Linked DNA regions of Homo sapiens: all the other regions are linked to region 1. Evidence: promoter capture Hi-C in human tissues and cell types (Jung and others, 2019). All regions are on one chromosome and are shown on one strand. Each heading gives the region's core, a stretch centred on a gene start or on the middle of the fragment in contact. The rest is flanking DNA. Distances are from core to core; before and after follow the strand shown.

Region 1 (4,856 bases), core at 1,037-3,536:
CGAGCGGCGGAGCTCCCCCCTCCCGCGCTGCCGACCCCGGAGCTGTCAGGAGCTCTGCCGAGCCCCACCCCGGAGCCCGGGCCCTGTCGCGCCATCCCCGTGCCGGGGGCGTGGGCGCATCCGCTTGCTCCCTCCAGGCCCGGCCGGCTCCTGCCGGCGCGGCGGATCCGGGAGCCGAGATCCCCGAGGGCGTGCGGACTGCCCCGGGCAGCCGGCGGTCCCCGGCGCGCCGAGCTGGACGAGCGGGCGCCAAGACCACCAGGGGCGGACCGACGAGGAGGAGGCCAAGGAGCTGGGCCGGGGACCGCGGGCAACCGGGAGCCTGCGCGGAGAGGACGCGGGCTGTTGGCCTGTGAATTTAAGGAGCCCGAAGCTCGCCTGGCAGCTCGGGGCGATGCATGAGAACCTTCCTCCCTGGCCCATTCCCGGGATGAACTGAGTGGGGAGCATCGGCTAGAGAGAGGGAGATCTTTTGCTTAGAAGAACAAAAACAGTTCCAGATTTCATATCTAAATTGCACTTTTTGCTGTTTCAGAACTGCTGGGAGACATCTGGAGCCGGTCCCAAAAAACCCGCGCACAGGAGAGATCCCCCTTTTGAATTGCAGAGGGGGACCGACACTCCTGGAGCACGCACACGGCCCTTTTCACTCATGGTCGGGAGTCTAACCCATCCTTTCTCTGATACCCTACCTGCTTGTCCCCTCCCCCTCAAAAGTCCCAGGTTACAGATTCTTGGAAGACTGTATCCGAGTCGCTGCAGCCAGCGGACAGATGCAGTGGAACTATGGTTATGTGCTGCTCTGCCTGGGAGAAGCGACGGGAAAGCCGAGGTTCTTTCCAAAGCTAATGGGCGGGGAAGAAAGACTGCTCGGAATTACTGGGTAGTATCATCTAGGAAAGGATTGCAGCGGGAGTGGATACCCTCCCCAGGGCTCCTCTAACTTTTTGAAAAGAGCGCGAGTGGACTGGGAACCATTCAAGGGATATTTGTCTTCTAGGCAATCCTGCTGGTAGGGTTCATTAGTTTCTAGAAGGCTAGTGTGATTTAGATTCTTGAGATGATTCAAGGAATGTGGCCTTTATCAAGCCCGACTTTCCGGGTGATGCTCCACATATTTTACCCAGGGTGGGAGAAATAGCACGCTGTCACCGAGACCCTCGCTCATCGGGGCTCCCACTGGTTCACTGCAGCTAGCTAGCAGTTAAAGTTTACTGCTTAGGTTGGGTGGGGGGGCATATTTTCTTAGAAGCTCCTGCCTTCCTCAGTTCATTACTGTAAACCCCGTACCTTAAAAGACTCGGCTTCTTCTCACTAACAAAGAAAAAAAGCAAAACAAAACCAAAACACACACACGCACACACACACACTCTCTCTCTGGGAATTTCCACAACTTCCCTTGAATGTGTAAGGATTTCTAAATGTTAGACTTGTTTGGATAGTATGAAAGGACAAAGTATCAGCACTCAGAAATGTCAACCTTTGAACCTCGAACACTTTCTGATTTATAAAAAGAATCCTTCCAAAAAGATGCAGGAGCCCTAATGTAATCGTTAGATCTGAAGGGGGAAATCTGTAAAAAAAAAAAAAAAAAAAAAAAAAAAGTCAATCACAAATGAGCCATTTAATACTTGCAAGTTGTTTAACATTGAAATGATAATATTTGCTTCCACAATAAAAAGTCCAAGGTACCTAGCCAAGTTTCAAACTATCCAGGCTTTAAAAAGTCAACCCTTCTCCCAATAGAAGGTTAAAACAAAAATCAGATTGAAATTATCAAATCACTTATGTTGTAAATAAATTCACTTTACTTTCAGAACATTATAAATTAAGGACTGGCATCAATAGACTGCTTTGATTTATGTTGCTTTTTCTACTAATTAAACAAAATTAACCCCCCACTCCTTCCCTCCTTTCTTTTTCCCCACACACTTTTCTGGTGTTAATGGCAAAACATCTATCAAATATTTTTAGAATTTCCTCTCCTCCACAAAAAGAGAAAATATAGACACAGGAAAAATAAATAGTCTTTATATACTCGGAATACCAAAGTTCCCTCCTAATTTATTACTTCACCTTTTCCTTGATTTACAATCTTCTCTCTGCTCTTCTGGCTGAAAGAGGGAAATCTTCTCAGCAGTCTTTTCCAGAAATATTTTTTGTTGTTCTTCAGAAAACATAAAATTAAATCTTAAAATGAATTAAAAGCTTCTTGAAAGGAGACTTCTGTTCCCACTAAAGGCAATTATTAGAAAGCAGGTACCTCTTCCAAGCTGCCCTGTTTATTACTTTCCGTAGAAATTCTCCTCAATATATACCCAGGACCCTGACTTTTTGCCTGTTTTGGAAAGGATATTTTCTGACATCATAATCTAGTTCCTAACATAACTGAGTAATCTCCATCATAATAATGCAGAGGATGCATGACTGCAAATGAGACACAGCAAGAGCACCCCCTACCACCTCCCTCCCCCCCCCGTCCCCCCAGCCCACACACACACCTTTTTTCTAAGGTTTAGAAATAGAACAAGTGCCAATAGAAGCTAAATGTTTGCTTAGGCCTTGCTGTCATGTAAATGCACCTTAGCAAATGGGAAGGCCTGCCTCTAATCTGAAGTATTTCCATGTTTAGCATTATAAGATCTACACCTACACAAATGCCTAGCCCATGAGCACCAGGCTTCCATCTTCCCATCCCCAGTGGCAGTTTATTACAGTATATCAAATTTTAAAAGAGGTTGAAAAAATTTTAAATGCATTACTCTTAAATTCAGTTGAATACCCAGTTAATGTATATCTCCTGTCATAGCTTAGAAAAAAGTAAATAGCATTTATGCTTAGCCTCTTCATCCTTCTTTCTTCTTTCCTCCTTAACCCAAACAGCAAACAGATATACATTATAAACCAAATATGAATCTATAGCACTTTAAACAGTGCACCTGGGCTTGGGAATTCTCTTATTACCAATAAGCATCCAGATTTCACATTTACCAATCTGTAGCTGCAAGCTATGTCTCTAAAATCCCCTGGAACCAAACAACTAAACTCATCCCATCTCTTCTCCAAACTTTTTTCAATGTTTACAAAGAGACGTTGCATAATCAGCTCAAGTAATGCTCTCATTGGATTCCATTAGAATGTGGCTCTCATCGCTCGCCTGGACTGAGACTTGAGAGGAGGCTGTTGCCAGCTGACCTCAAGGTAGCAAAAAAGAAAAAAAGATGTAATGCCTTCAAACCCCAAGTAACAATAGGAAAGGGTGTGTTTCTTTATTAAATCTTTTTGTAGTTAGGTGAGGATAAGACTTCTCCAGGAACAGGGCGGGCTGCTAACCTCTGGAGGAACTGCCTCAGGGAGGAGTGTATAGATATGCATCAAGCTGATGGGATCCTCCCATGGGAAAAGTGGGCCTCACACCCTTCCTCACCCTTCCCTACTTCCTGGGCAATGTTCTGCTTCCCCCAAACTGAAGCAGGAGGCCCAGAGAGGAGGCGGTTTCCTGGGAGGAACCCAAACCAATGTGAGATGAGAAGGTCTTTAGGAAATGGGGGTCTCTGAGAACCGGTTCTTAAAGGTCAAGCACTTGAGCACCTCGCAAACTCCTGACAATTGAAACATATCTGAAGAGTCTTCTTCAGATATGTCTCTGTGTGTGTGTGTGTGTGTGTGTGTGTGTGTGTGTGAGAGAGAGAGAGAGAGAGAGAGAGAGAGAATATGAATGTGCAGTGTCCCAGTCCTGATCTCCTGGACTGGTGCCAGCCAGCCAGATGCCTGCCCTTGGCTGGCCAAGTTTTTGGCTCCTGAAAGTAGGCAGCTCTGGACTTGTACGAGGCCACAGAGAGAGTTCCAAGCCCCACCTGGCTCAGGCGACAACCTCTCAACCTGAAGTCAATCTCCGGTGGCATCACAGGGCCCTCCTGGCAGCAGCCCAGTTCCCCACATGAACCGAATGGTCCTTTCTTAAATTTTGAGCCGGGGGCTGCCTAAAAGGGGCTGCCCCCGCAAGCATTTTACCTCCCTAACACCATTCTCTGCCCGTGCCACGCTGGCCTCGAAGTCCCTTCCCAGGGCAGCACCCGGACTGAGATGTCTAAACTCTCCGGCAGGAAGGATACCTATCCAGACACCCGCACTGGATGTCCTGTCTGTTTGGCTTTGAGCTGGTCATTACGGTGTCTTTGGATCCTGCCTAACTTTTCTGTAATTTTTATCAGAAATAAGGCTTCAGGAGAGCAAACGTTGAGTTATGCGCTCCTTCTCTGGAGTCTCCTGCCCTGGTGTTTGCGCTCCCACTGCAGCAAGGGAGGCCTGAGTCTCTTAGGGCAGGGGTCCAGGGTCTTGGGAGAGGCCTTAGGGCAAGGGGGATGATCTTTTTCAGCCTCCCCTCCCCTCCTCCCACCCAGCGTCCTCATCCCCACCGCCTGCGATAGACTTGGGTCGCCCATTAGGAAGCTGATCCGCAGGGACGGGGCAGGCTTGGCTCCTGGGGATCTTAGGCTCCATGGGAACTTCGGGGGTCTCGGGGCCCGTGAGCGGATCTAGCTACTACTTCCCCTAGGTTCTCCTCGGGCTTCAGTCCCTAAGAGTCTGGACTCCGGACTGCCGCACAGAATCCTTCTTGCCCGGAGCGGTATTATTGAGGTCTTTGCGTTCTGCCCCGCCCTGTCCCGCCGGCTTGGGTGCTTGGTTTCTAACCCGAGTATACTCGGAGTCTCTGGTCCTGCGCGCCCCCCTCCTCCCGGGAGAGCCCCGTATCTGGCTGCGGGTAAGGGAAAACTTCGGGAACCCCGAGACCCAAGGACAGGGTCGGAGGGAGCGCGCGAACTTCCTCTGAGCAGGGCTCTTCCTCCCCTCCC
Region 2 (4,856 bases), core at 1,288-3,787, 600 kb after region 1:
GTGATACCCAACTTGGTCTCGGGAGAATCAGGGAAGGTTTTCTGCATGGGAGGGTGGTGTTCAAGTGATACCTGAGTAGAGGCTGTCCATGCAAAAAAGTGGAAAATATCATGGCAAGCTTCCAGAGATGAGAAAGTTTGGGATCACCGACTAGTTCCATGCATCTGGAGCATAGAGTGGAAGTAGCTGAGTACTGAAATCCAAAGACGGGGATGAAAGCAGAGACTGGATTAAAAATCCCTGAGAGCCAAGATATCAAGTAGGTAAGGGGCAGAGGTCAAAATAAATGGATCCAGCCAGTCTGAGGAAGATTCACCTACACCAATGCTGCAGTCTGAAGCTGGATAAGAAGAAGGGAAGGAAATAAACATTTTTGAGTGTGTACCATATACCAGACCCTGTGCATCACCTAATCAAATTATCACACAAAGCTTTTAGGGGGTATAATTGTCACCATTTCATGGCTGAAAAACATGGCCTCAAAAGATAGCATGATGGGTATCACACAGCTTTTGAGTAGTAGGTCTGGGATTCAAATTCAGGTCTAATTCCAAAGCCTGTGTTCTTTCTGACCATAGCAATGACTCCAGAGCAACAGGCCAGCGAAGAGAGGGCAGGCTTTAATGAATGAGATAGAAGCTACAGTGAGTCAGACTTGGGCTTCAGGTAACCACATGGAGGCAGGGTAACAGCTGGCACAAGACTTCCAGGAAATGGGCAATGTTTGGAAAGATATGTTGACAAACTGCCCAGGCTGTGGGGCATGAGGTCCAAAGGTCAAAGTTTAGAAGAATAAAAAGCAAAATCAAATTTCTATGTAGAAGAAGCTAACTAGAAGTTGATATAGAAGCATGAAACTAGACAGAAGAGGGAGGAGTTAGAAGAAGAGACAGGGCCAAGTGCCATGCTGAGAGGCCGAAGCTACAGAAAAAGTGTCCAAGGAGAGAGGCTCCTGGTGATGGGGTGGCTGAAAGACTTTAAAGAATAGAAGTGTCTGATATGTAATCATAGGTTGTTTGGTTGATGTCCTGTAAACTCCAACAATTGCCCCAATTCTCCTGTTAAAATCCATCCCACACATCACATAGCCTTGTGTTTGAGACAGGCTCCCGTAGAATGTCCAAACAGGAAGACGGGGAATGTTCAGTGTGGAGTGACAGGGTACACAGAACAGAGAGCAGGCACAGAAAAGAGAGGGAGCCCGTACATGGAGTGATTAGGCCTCAGCCAGAGGTAGCCAGGAACATTATAAACAACTTGCCCACATGTCAAAGATTAGCAGAGAGTTTGAGAGAGTTGTTAAATGGCTCACCACATAAGGAAGGAGAATGCAAAACAATTTCATTTGAATCCTGAAAGGGCAAGCTGAACTTAGCTGATGTGTGGCTTATGAAAAGAAGATATTGCTAATAGAGCTGATCAAGGATTAAGTAGGCAACCTTGGACAGCAGTTAATTTTCCACCCCTGGGAATGTGTAGGCAAAGAGGACACAGACCCAGACATGGCAGTGGTAGGACAGATTCAGGTGTCAGATGGGGACAGACTGCATAACCCATTGAACTCCCTCCCAACCCTGAGAGTCCAGCCTAGGAAAGCAAGTTTAAGGCTCCCAAATGAATTAAGTATCCAAGCAAATCGGACTTGCATTTGGGAATGCACGTTTGACAAAACTCAGAATGAATGAGTCAATAGGAAATCCACCCAAACAGGTTAAAATTAAAACTGAACCATTAACATCCAAGAGAAGGATAAAGCTGCCTTGCTAGTCGACTTTCTGATTCAATCCAAGATTTCTCATGTGTTTCCTGCTCCTCTTAATGAGTCACTTGGTTTAGACAGTCTAGGATTTGCTTTCAGAGCAGGTGGATAAACTTACCTGTCCCAATGGAGATTTAGGTTTCAACACCTGCTGAAGATGCATCTAACCTGTTGAAGATTTTCTTGCATTTTTAGATTCATGCCCGGACCTAGCCATCCTTTCTCCCAGTTCAGTAGTGATATCCACCAGGCTGGAGGTGTGTTGAAGGAATGAAAGTGCACCAGCTTCAAGAGAAAAGGAAACAAACAAAAGTAGAGCAAGAAAGATTGAGAACAGCAATGTAGGCAGAAAGCTGGTAACAATGAGCTCTCTTCTCTCCATGACCTGGCCAGAAAGAAACAAGCAAATGCTGTTACAACCCCTTAGACTGTGTGCAAGGACAGGGTACACACCAATTGCTAAAGCACATGTTAAAAGGTTAAAATTTTAAACGATTTCCTAGATTTTCTCTTATACTGTGCTCAGAACAATATGTGCAATTTAGAGGAAAAAAAAAACCTAAGTAAATATGATATTCTGCTAATGCTCTTTTATGTGTCAGCCAGGAATGAAGATAGCTTAGGTACATGAAATTCATAGACAAACCATACGTTTTAAAAAAGCAGACTTTATTGGTTGGAATTTCAGCATGAAAGGTATTTCTGCACCCACCCATGGTAGGGCAACAGTCAGAATAGTTAGAAGTCACGAAGGAGGAGGAGGCAGGAAGAACCTACAGCAACCACAGACTAGATCGTCCGCCCTAAGAAATTGACTGTAGACCTCAAATAGTTGCTGATATTTGAAATAAGAATAAAATTTCCCATATGCAACCAGTCTAGGGAGGCATTCTTGGTGACATTTTCAAATTGTCCCATCTGCCACAATCCTCCACTCAGCAGGACTGAACACATCTCCAGGGGTCAAACCCACATGGATTAGATTTGAAAGACCACGAAGTTCAGTTCTTTCTTCAGAATGTCCTCCCTTTGTGGAAACTAGAAGTAAATTAACAACCCCACCTAGTAATTCCAAAAGATAGAATCACATTTAAGCTACCCCTTGGCTTTAGAAATGTTTTTCTTCCAAGAAACTACTTTTGAAATAAGTAAAAAATGTTAAAGCTGACCACTCATCTTTTCATTTTAAGAAGTACTTTTGAATCCTTCCTCCAGGCCACCATGCTAGACATGGAAGATACAAAGATCTATTGATGCCTTTGAATAGCCTAGAGTCTCTTGTTCGTATGAACAAGATTAAGATCCAATAAATTAATCACAAAGTGCAGATGTGCACCCTGAGCCTAAATCTGCCCCCCAGGTATTGGGAAAGGCCTCACAGCAAAGGTGGAGACTGAGCCGAGCAGCTGATGGTGAGTGGGAGTTTATCAGATGACAGACAGGTGAATTGCATTTCAGAAGGAGGGAATAGTATGTTGCAAAGGTACCAAAGAGGGAAAGAGTATGACAGTGGCTTGAGGAGAGTAAGTGGCACCAGGGTCAAGGGAGTGTGTTGCATGCTCTAGTCATGCAAGTGTTTTCCTGGAAAAAGAACAAATGCACTGTGGTAAAATTCAAGTGCATTCCTATACTTAAAATTCAACAGATCTAAAGATAGTAATTCAGAGCAAAAGGAAATTAAAATATTTGAGCAGTTTCTTTGTGACACCTGAAAACAAGTGCCAGGGGATTTATGAGTTATTATCTCTAGAATAGGTCGCTTCATGGGCCTGTAGCCTGCCATCACTCAGGGACCCATGCTGAGAAGCCTCTGCTCTTGGGCAAATGCTCTGCCCTTGCTGTCTTAAAATTCTTTAGTACATTTTGAACAATGAGCCTTGGCTTTTCATATTCCATTTGTCCCCAGAAATTATGCAGCTGAGCCTGAGAACAGAACATTTTCAGATAACTTGAAATAGCTCAGTATTGTATTTAAAGTGGAAAGAGGGAGAAGTGGTAGATGAGGTTGAACATGTAGGCAGTGGCATATATTGAAAGGCCTGGGAGTCTCGCTAAAAATTTAAAATGTACCTGTAGGATATAGAAGGTCATTGAAGAATTTGAGCAAGAAGTAGCATGAAGAGATGTGCTGTTTAGATCACTCTGGTGTAATGAGTCGATAGAGTGGAAATATAACAAAAAGTTTCCCATTTAAAATAAATGCACTTTCCTTGTTTGAATTTCGTTTCTTGGGAATAAAGTTTTGATCCGTCTTAAAAGTCTCTACGAGGAATAATTGCTGTGATTAACTTCCACCTTAGGGTAAATTAAGATAGCAAGATCTGTGAGCTCTCTTGAGAACTGGATGTAGGAAAGGGAGAACAGAAAACAGGAGGCAGAAGGTTCTGTGTATAGATGGGCAGGCCATACAGAAGCCGGGCTTCTGGGGAAAAGCTTAGCCGTCTCTTCATTCTTCACAAGCCTAGCCTGATGACACATAGAGATTTTTTTCTTTTCCCAAAAAATGGCCTTTTGGCATTCTCCCTGCCTGTTTCATTATTGCAGTGTTTCTTGTGTGTTCCCCAGGAAATCAGCATCTCCATCACCTGGAACTTGTTAGACGTGTACTCTCTGCTCCACCCTAGTAGCACCAAATCAGAAACTCTGGGGCTGGAGTCCAGAAACCTGTTGTTGTAATCCCTCTGAGTGATCCTCAGGCAGCCAGGAACTGTTGCTTCATTGTAAATTATCTGTGCCTCTAGAACTCAGATATTATAAGAAAAATGGTGGAAATGTCCATTTAGTATCAGAATGAATAATCAAAAGTGACTTTAATATCAAAAAATGTTCAGTCTTGTTCTAAACATATTTTTACATGAATGTACATTCAGCGAGTGATCTAGGGCATACATGATTGCAAAATCTTCATAGGTGTTAATGCCATAGTTCCAGAATGACTTTAAAAGGGCATATATTACTGCACGAGCAATGAATCATAGCTTCTGCAGTTAATGGTGGTATTTAACAAAACAAAATAAAGATGATTCTTTTCTTCTTAAGCAAGCATGGTCATTATTTTGGAAGAATGTTTTTCTTGTACCATCATCTTCTAAAGGAT
Region 3 (4,856 bases), core at 1,233-3,732, 590 kb after region 1:
GTGGTTACTGAACACTTGAAATGTGGCTAGTGTGACAGAGGACACTAATTAATTTTATTTTATTTAAATTTTATAGTTACATGTGACTAGTGGCTACTCTTGGAAAATGCAAATATAGAGATTCCCTTGCCAGAGGGGAAGCAGTAACCAAGTTATTTCTCCTAATCACACAAACACAGTTACGTTTGTTTCCTTCCTTTCTTTTTAAGATTGGTGTGTAGAGTAGGCATGTCATGAGTACAAATGCATGTGAAACACTTCAAGAAAAAAAGAAAGCTGAGAACCCAGTGCTGTTGATATATTATTTAATTGCATAATGCGTACAGATTAAAGGAGACCTTACTGGAAAACTTTCTAGTGTATGATTCTTAGAGCTGGGAACACTTCTAGTTTAGTGCCACCAAGAAAGGATTTCTCTGATCTTCGGCCAAAATTATCCTAAAAATAGAAACTCGTCTATTTAAATTTGAATTTCTGCCTTGGTTTGTTTTTGAGAGTTGCCTGGAGAATCATTATGACCATAGTTTTAAAGATTAAGCAGAAAATGAGTAACTGCATATAAAGATTCAGACTTCCAAAATGGACTTTGGGGAATGCAAAATAATGTCTAATTATTATGCCTTTGAAATTATTTTACTTACACCACCGCCCCCCCCCCCCGCCCCAGTAATTGAATTTGTTGAGAAGTAGCTTTTCGTTTTAAAAAATTACTGAGCTTGAATTATACCATGTATTGTGCTAGTCATATTACAACTAGTGAGTGCCTTTAACAGTTCTGTGAGGTAGATACCTCCTATTAAAGAAGAGGAAAGCAATGCTTACAGAGGCTAATTAACTTACCAATGATCACTGCCGGTTCCATACCAGGTCGGCCTGATGCCCACGCTTTTCACAAGGGCAGGTATTGCCTTTTGCAAGTAATATTCACCTACTTTTTTAAATTTAGCCACGCATTCTGTTTGGATTCACTTTTGTAATATATCTCCCACCAAAGGATGCTAATGATCTTTCTCAGCACAAGCTCCAGGCACAGCTTTTTGACAACCAGATTATGCTGAGTGGTATATCACCAAAGCTGCACTAAGCCCTCTGGCTTGTGAGGCATCAGACCAGTTTGTATGCTGGTGGGACAAAACTGTGGGAAAATCATTTCCCTTCTATGCCAAATTTCATTTAATTGCTATTGTTTACCTAGTGGGAAAAGACTTATGTTCCACAGCTCAAGAAAATCAATCCTACTTCAATACAGTGACTTAACCTGGAGTTACATTAGCTTAATGAAAAAAAGGCCTGGCTGAAATATAAAATCAAGAAATCAACTATAATTTAGCTAATATAATGTAACAATAAAAATTCTTCCAGAAGATTAATCTTCCCCAAAGCTCTAATCAATTCTTAAAATCATCAGTCCAAATCAGTAAGTCAGTGGCATAATAAGCATTATAATCTTAACATTTTCAAAGAAGAAAATTGAAAGAGTGAATAAAGTAATTTCATTCTGTCCTAAATTTTATTCAAAGAAAGAACATAACACAAAACCTGAAACTACCAGCTTCTTTCCTCAAATTTTACCTATTCATTGAAACTGATACAGCTCATCCATGATATCAGCATGGGAAACCACATCACATATTATTTGGAAATACATAAATGAGTATTGTTCCCATTGCAAAACTTAGAGATTTGCGTTCCTCCCTTTCATAACTTACCATAGTTCATCCAGCATGGAGCCAGCCTCCCTGGTTCAAGTCTCAAGGCTGTCATTTACCAGCTTAACATATAAGATCTCCAGTGCCTCAGTTTCCTCAGTTTTAGAAAGACGACAATAGAATGTACTTCATAAGATTGTTTGAGTGCTAATACATAAAAAGCAATTAAAACCGTGTCTGGCCCGTAGTTAAGAGTTTATGTCCTGTATTCATAAAGAAACAGTGGCTGTTTACATCATCCTTACTTTTAAATTTGTCACTATTTTTGTTAATATTTTTAGGATTGATGATATATTATTTTTTGGCTTTTAAAAATATGTTTGGGCTGAGTGCAGTGGCTCACGCCTGTAATCCCAACACTTTGGGAGGCCGAGGCCAGTAGACCACGAGGTGAAGAGATCGAGACCATCCTGGCCAACATGGTGAAACCCCGGCTCTACTAAAAATACAAAACTTAGCTGGGCGTGGTGGTGGGCACCTGTAATCCCAGCTACTTGAATCCGGCAGGCGGAGGGTGCAGTGAGCCGAGATTGCACCTCTGCATTCCAGCCTGGCAACAGAGCGAGAATCCATCTCAAAAAATATATATATGTTTGTTATACTGATTCATTTGTTCTGATTGACAGTTTTCTGTTAAACTGTGTCTTACTTTATTTGAAGAATGTTTATGATCTATCATCTTCCAGCGAGATGTTCTGTTAGCTTCTAAGTAAGAAGCTTAGAATTCTGCAAAACATTTTCAGAGAGGGTGCATAAAAATAATGCTTTATTGCATGACTTTTTTTTTTTTTTTTTTTTTTTTGGTGGCAGCAAATATGTTGAGAATTCTAAGATGCTCTTTCCTTCAGTGGTTATCTAAAAAGTGTTAAACTGTGAGCATCTGCCTGGCATGCAAACTTCATGTTTTACTGTTGTGATTATCCCAGGCAGCAGATCACAGGTATGTTTACCTTCAACAGACTTAGTCCCTTAATTTCTTCCCTGTCCTCCTTTTCCTTCTTCCCCAGTCTGCTGAATTCCTGTCTGCTATGAAGAGTGGTGACAAATACTAATCTGAACTAGACCACAGTCATATAAAGTCAGATTGAGGACTTGGCCTTGTATCAAACCTGAAGTGGAGGGGAAGGGTGGAAACTGCTGTCTTGTAAATAGCCACCCAGGGCGTAAGCCCTGAAAACATGTAAATATCACTATGTCCCATATGCATTATTTCTCAATTTTGTCATGCTACCTTTGCCAGCTAGTTTAACTGAGTATGATTTACAGTTATTTTATTGAACATTTTTTGACAATTTGAGTACAGTTCTGGATGTAATATTAAATCCTCTTCTGGCTCAGCAGATTGCAAAATTGCACGTTCTGTCTACACATCAAATCCTAGGTCTGGAGGGGAATTGCAGACTTTACCTAGTCCAGTACATCCAGAAAATACTGCGTTTGAGCTTTTCCATAGCAGATGGTATTTCACCCTATCCTAAATGACATCCAAACAAGAAGATTGATGATATGATTAAAGACTGTGAAGAAAGGTTAAAATTAAGCTTGGCTTCTGTTTCTTTTAAATTCATAAAATTTTTTCTTCTTCAAGGATCTCTAGCCAATTCCAATGGCTGAGCCAATAAGTTTAATCATACCTTTATGACTGAAGAGGAAACTAAATATGGTAAATAAATGTTAACAATTTAGTTCTAAATTGTTTGTGTCAACTTTATATATCAGGTTTGAGATTGATCAGTTTTTTAATCTATCTGGAATCTGGTGTTGAAAAGTCCCAGAAATAAAAGCTATTCTAAAGAAGTTTCAGAAAATCAACTCAATTCTTGTAACCTTCATACCCGAAGACTGAGTAATTTATAAAGAAAAAGGTTTAGTAGACTCACAGTTCCACACGCCTGGGGAGGCCTCACAATGATGGCAGAAGACAAAGGAAGAGCAACGGGACTTCTCACATGGCAGTGGGCAGTAGAGTGTGTGCAGGGGAACTCCCCTTTATAAACCCATCAGATCTCAAGAGATTTATTTATTCACTATCGCAAGAACAGCACAGGAAAGACTTCCCACAGGGTCCCTCCCACAACATGTGGGAATTATGGGAGCTACAATTCAAGATGAGATTTGAGTGGGGACACAACCAAACCATATCACTCTTTTATAGATATTTTGCTATGACCAGAAACCAAAGCTTTGCCTACATGAGTTTACATTATAATTACATTACATTATAATATTTTTCTAAGAATTCCAAGAAAAAAGTGTAAATGGTCCAAGGAAGGAAAATTTGCTTTTTGTCAAACTCCCATTTGTTGAATATGATATATTTAGCAATAAAATGAATATTTGGCTCAGAACAATACATTCTAATCAGCTTTCCATTGAACATGCCATCATCACAGTTTCTGTAATTATTTAGAATTCTTTATTGAGCTATAATTGACAAAGGAAAGATAGATTGCATTAAAATACTAGATACATGGCATTTAAAAGTTGTTTTAAAATAAGTTCCCCTTGATTTTAACGTAAGCTTTGGTTAGGTTAAATAAAATGTTTTCAAACTCAGAGTTCCCCTCTGTAATCAGCATCTAAGATCTGATGTTACTTATTATTACTAAGGAGTTTCTTCAACAATTCATTTTTTATGATTTCTCCACCTTAAAGGCTTATGATACTGTTATGAATTTCATAACATTATGAGATCTCTGCTTCTGGGACAGAAGGATAGATTGATCCTATTTCCCTACTCCATGGCAGGTAGGTGGAGCAATGCCACGAGCACTGTGGGGCTGCAGGCAGAGTGATGTGTATCATGCCAAGCCAAACCATTTATTTACTGCTGCCAGACCCTCCAACCCAGAGCTCTCCCTCTGGGTGACAGTGGAAGAGGCCTTTTGTTGAGATTGTGGAGACACAAGATCAAAACAGCATCACTGAGTTACCACATGAAGTACAGTTACCTTAGAGGGTCTCCTATATCTACAAATGGTTATAATTGAAAAATCAACCCTTTTTGGGGTAAGTCACCGAGAACTGGGAGTTTTCTATTATTATAGCATAACCTGATCTGTCTTATAACTACAAAAGATAAAGCAAACCTCAGGAGAACATCTGGCCTCTTTACATTACCATTCCTTCAGAATCTCTAGAGACCCA
Region 4 (4,856 bases), core at 1,700-4,199, 550 kb after region 1:
GGTGCATATATATTTAGGATAGTTAGTTCTTCTTGTTGAATTGATCCCTTTACCATTATGTAATGGCCTTCTTTGTCTCTTTTGATCTCTGTTGGTTTAAAGTCTGTTTTATCAGAGACTAGGATTGCAACCCCTGCCTTTTTTTGTTTTCCATTTGCCTGGTAGATCTTCCTCCATCCCTTTATTTTGAGCCTATGTGTGTCTCTGCACATGAGATGGGTCTCCTGAATACAGCACACTGATGGGTCTTGACTCTTTATCCAATTTGCCAGTCTGTGTCTTTTAAATGGAGCATTTAGCCCATTTACATTTAAGGTTAATATTGTTATGTGTGAATTTCATCCTGTCATTATGATATTAACTGGTTATTTTGCTTGTTAGTTGATGCATTTTCTTCCTAGCATCGATGGTCTTTACAATTTGGCATGTATTTTCAGTGTCTGGTAGTGGTTGTTCCTTTCCAGGTTTAGTGCTTCCTTCAGGAGCTCTTGTAAGGCAGGCCTGGTGTTGACAAAATCTCTCAGCATTTGCTTGTCTGTAAAGGATTTTATTTCTCCTTCACTTATGAAGCTTAGTTTGGCTGGATATGAAATTCTGGGTTGAAAATTCTTTTCTTTAAAAACGTTGAATATTAGCCCCCACTCTATTCTGGCTTGTAGAGTTTTTGCCAAGGCATCCACTGTGAACGCCACAAAGATACTCCTCAAGAAGAGTAACTCTAAGACACATGATTGTCAGATTCACCAAAGTTGAAATGAAGGAAAAAATATTAAGGGCAGCCAGAGAGAAAGGTCAGGTTACCCACAAAGGGAAGCCCATCAGACTAACAGTGGATCTCTCGGCCAAAATTCTTTCTCTTTTCTGATTGCTCTGACTAGGACTTCCAGTACTATGTTGAAGAGGAGTAGTGAGAGTGGGCAGCCTTGTCTTGTTCCAGTTCTCAGAGGGAATGCTTTCAACTTTTCCCCGTTCAGTATTATGTTGGCTGTGGGTTTGTCATAAATGGTTTTTATTACCTTGAGGCATGTCCCTTGTATGCCAATTTTGCTGAGAGTTTTAATCATAAAGGAATGTTGGATTTTGTCAAATGGCTCATGTGATTTTTGTTTTTGATTCTGTTTATGTGGTGTATCACATTTATTGACTTGCATATGTTAAACTATCCCTGCATCCCTGGTATTAAACCCACTTTAATCATGCTGGATTATCTCTGATATGTTGTTGGATTCAGTTAGCTAGTATTTTGTTGAGGTTTTTTGCATATCTGTTCAACAGGGATATTGGTCGGTAGTTTTCTTTTTTGGTTGTATCCTTTCCTGATTTAGATATTAGGGTGATACTGGCTTCATAGAATGATTTAGGGAGGCGTCCCTCTTTTTCTGTCTTGTAGAATAGTGTCAATAGGATTGGTAACAGTTCTTTTTTAATGTCTGGTATAAAGCTGTTGTGAATGCGTCTGGTCCTGGACTTGTTTTGTTGGTAATTTTTTATTACCCTTTCAGTCTCACTGCTTTTTATTGGTCTGTTCTAAGTATCTAATTCTTCTTGATTTAAGATAGGAGTGTTTGTCTTTCCAGGAATTTATCCATCTCCTCTAGGTTTTCTGGTTTATGCACATAAAGGTGTTCATAGTAGCTTTGAATGATGTTTAGTATTTCTGTGATGTCAGTTGTAATATCTCCCATTTCATTTCTAATTGAGCTTAGTTGGATGTTCTCTCTTCTTTTCTTGGTTAATCTTGCTAATGGTAATTCAATTTTATTTATCGTTTCAAAGAACCAGCTTTTTGTTTCATGTATCTTTTGTATTGTTTTTTGTTTGTTTCAGTTTCACTTGGTTCTGCTCACATTTCGGTTATTTCCTTTCTTCTGCTGGGTTTGGGTTTGGTTTGTTCTTACTTCTCTAGTTCCTTGAGGTGTGACTTTAGATTATCTGTTTGTGCTCTTTCAGACTCTTTGATATAGGCGTTTAGGGCTGTAAACTTTCCTCCTAGCACCACCTTTGCTGTATCCCAGAGGTATTGATAGGTTGTGTCACTATTGTCATTCAGTTCGAAGAGTTTTTAATTTCCATCATGATTTCATTGTTAGCCCAATGATCATTCGGGAGCAAGTCATTTAATTTCCATGTATTTGCATGGTTTTGAAGGTTCCTTTTGGAGTTGATTTCCAGTTTTATTCCACTGTGGTCTGAGAGAGTGCTTGATATAATTTCAATTTTCTTAAATTTATTGAGGCTTGTTTTGTGGCCTGTCATATGGTCTATCTTGGAGAAAGTTCCATGCACTGTTGATTAGAATGTATATTCTGTGGTTGTTGGGTAGAACGTTCTGTAAATATCTGTTAAGTCTACTTGTTCCAGGGTATAGTTTAAATGCATTGTTATTTTGTTGGCTTTCTGTCTTGATGACCTGTCTCGTGCTGTCAGTGTAGTATTTAAGTCCCCCCACTATTATTATGTTGCTGTCTATCTCATTTCTTAGGTCTATTAGTAATTGTTTTATAAATTTGGGATCTCCCAAATTTATATATTTATGATTCTGATACTTCCCTGTTGGACAAAGCCTTTTATTGTTATATAATGTCCCTCTTTGTCTTTTTTAACTGCTGTTTTTAAAGTTTGTTTTATGTGATATAGGAATAGCTACTCCTGCTCACTTTCGGTGTCCATTTGCATGGAATGTTGTTTTCCATCCCTTTACCTTAAGTTTGTGTGAGTCCATATGTGTTAGGTGTGTCTCGAAGGCAGCAGATATTTAGTTGATGAATTCTTATCTATTCGGCAATTTTGTATCTTTTAAGTGGAGCATTTAGGCCATTTATGTTCAATGTTAGTATTGAGATGTGAGGTACTATTCCATTCATCATGCTATTTGTTGCCTGTATACCTTGGTTTTTTTTTTTTTAATTGTATTTTTGTTTTATAGGTCCTGTGAGATTTATGCTTTAAAGAGGTTCTGTTTTGATGTGTTTCCAGAATTTGTTTCAAGATTTAGAGCTCCTTTTAGCAGTTCTTGTAGTGCTGGCTTGGTAGTGGCAAATTTTCTCAGCATATGTTTGTTTGTCTGAAAAAGACTGTATCTTTCCTTCATTTATGAAGCTTAGTTTTGCTGGGTACAAAATTCTTGGCTGATAATTGTTTTGTTTGAGGAGGCTAAAGATAGGGCCCCAATCCTTCTAGCCTGTAGGGTTTCTGCTGAGAAATCTATTGTTAATCTGATTGGTTTTCCTTTATAGGTTACCTGGTGTTTTTGCCTCACAGCTCTTAAAATTCTGTCCTCCATCTTAACTTTAGATAACCTGTTGACAGTGTGCCTAGGTGATTATCTTTTTATGATGAATTTCCCAGGTGTTGTTTGAGCCTCCTGTATTTGGATGTCTAGGTTTCTAGCAAGGCTGGGGAACTTTTCCTCAATTATTCCCCCAAATATATTTTCTAAACTTTTAGTTTTCTCTTCCTCCTCAGGAACACCGATTATTCTTAGGTTTGGCCATTTAACATAATCCCAGACTTCTTGGAGTCTTTGTTCATATTTTCTTATTCTTTTTTCTTTGTCTTTGTTGGATTGGGTTAATTTGAAAACTTTATCTTCAAGCTCTGAAGTTCTTTCTTCTGCTTGTTCAATTCTATTGCTGAGATTTTCCAGAGCATTTTGTATTTCTATAAGTGTGTCCATCATTTCCTGAAGGTTTAATTGTTTATTATTTATGCTATTTATTTCCTTGAATAGTTCTCCTTTCACTTCTTGTATTATATTTTGGATTTCCTTACATTGGACTTTGCCTTTCTCTGGTGCCTCCCTTATTAGCTTAATAACTAACTGTCTGAATTCTTTTTCAGGTAAATCAGGGATTTCTTCTTGGTCTGGATTCATATTTGGTGAGCTAGTGTGATTTTTAGGGGGTGTTAAAGAACCTTGTTTTTTCCCATTACCAGGGTTGGTTTTCTGGTTTCTTATTTGGATAGGCTCTGTCAGAAGAAGGTCTAGGGCTCAAGGCTCTTGTTCAGATTATTTTGTCCCACGGGATACTCCCTTGATGTAATACTCTTCTCCTTTCCTAGGGATGGGGGTTCCCGAGAGCTGAGCTGTAATGATTGTTATCTCTCTTCTGGATATAGCCACCTAGCAAATGTATCAGACTCTGGGCTAGTACTGGAGGTTGTCTGCACAGAGTCCTGTGATGTGAACCATCTTTGGGTCTCTCAGCCATGGATACGAGCACCTGCTCGGGTGGCAGTGGCAGGGGAGTGAAATGGACTCTGAGTGTTCTTAGCTTTGGTTGATTAGTGTGCTATTTTTGTGCTGGTTGACCTGCTGGGAAGTGGCACTTGCAAGAGAGCATCAGCTATGGGAGTATGGGGGGGGAACATTTGGTAGGTGGGGCCCCATAACTCCCAAGAGTATATGCCCATTGTCTTCAGTTACCAGGGTGGTAGGAAAGGACCATTAGATGGTGGCAGGGCTAGGCATGCCTGGGCTTGGACTCTACTTGGGCAGGTCTTGCTGCAACTGCTGTGGGAGATGGGGGTGAGGTTCCCACGTCAGTGGAATTATGTTCCTAGGAGGATTATGGCTGCCTCTGTTGTGTCATGCAGGTTGCCAGGAAACTGGGGGAAAGACAGGAGTCACAGGCCTCACTCAGCTCCCGTCTAACCCAAATGGCTGGTCTCACTCCCACTGTGCCCCCCCGCCAAGAGCACCAAGTCTGTTTCCAGGCAGTGAGTGAGCAGGGCTAAGAACTTGCCCCATGTTACCCACCTCCCAGCTGTGAAAGTAAGCAGGGCTTTCCTTCTCCCCCCACCTGTGGAGTCTGCACGCTGGATTCATGCCCTCTTCAGAGTTCTGGCCAGGAGAC

What was found. Contacts are between HindIII fragments. The study calls those that stand out against the background at their distance.
Region 2: a contact is called between a fragment that was not itself captured here and the fragment with the promoter of PTHLH in region 1, in 2 of the 25 tissues and cell types used here (IMR-90 fibroblasts and mesendoderm cells).
Region 3: a contact is called between a fragment that was not itself captured here and the fragment with the promoter of PTHLH in region 1, in 1 of the 25 tissues and cell types used here (IMR-90 fibroblasts).
Region 4: a fragment that was not itself captured here is called in contact with the fragment with the promoter of PTHLH in region 1 in 2 of the 25 tissues and cell types used here (hippocampus and mesendoderm cells).

What each region holds. Positions count from the first base shown.
Region 1 is chr12:27,970,447-27,975,302 of GRCh38, forward strand. It overlaps PTHLH (parathyroid hormone like hormone), which reads right to left and starts at 2,287. Exons shown (of 6, transcript NM_198965.2): 1 at 2,077-2,287; 2 at 1,481-1,573. RefSeq lists an enhancer at 4,671-4,856. The HindIII fragment of the contact is 6,422 bases long and covers 410-4,856 here.
Region 2 is chr12:28,574,243-28,579,098 of GRCh38, forward strand. No RefSeq gene overlaps it. Among named protein-coding and RNA genes, the nearest start is that of CCDC91, 390 kb to the left of the region's middle. The HindIII fragment of the contact is 5,057 bases long and covers 10-4,856 here.
Region 3 is chr12:28,555,626-28,560,481 of GRCh38, forward strand. No RefSeq gene overlaps it. Among named protein-coding and RNA genes, the nearest start is that of CCDC91, 370 kb to the left of the region's middle. The HindIII fragment of the contact is 3,155 bases long and covers 906-4,060 here.
Region 4 is chr12:28,523,266-28,528,121 of GRCh38, forward strand. All of the region lies in intron 12 of CCDC91 (coiled-coil domain containing 91), which reads left to right. Among named protein-coding and RNA genes, the nearest start is that of CCDC91, 340 kb to the left of the region's middle. The HindIII fragment of the contact is 6,651 bases long and covers 1-4,856 here.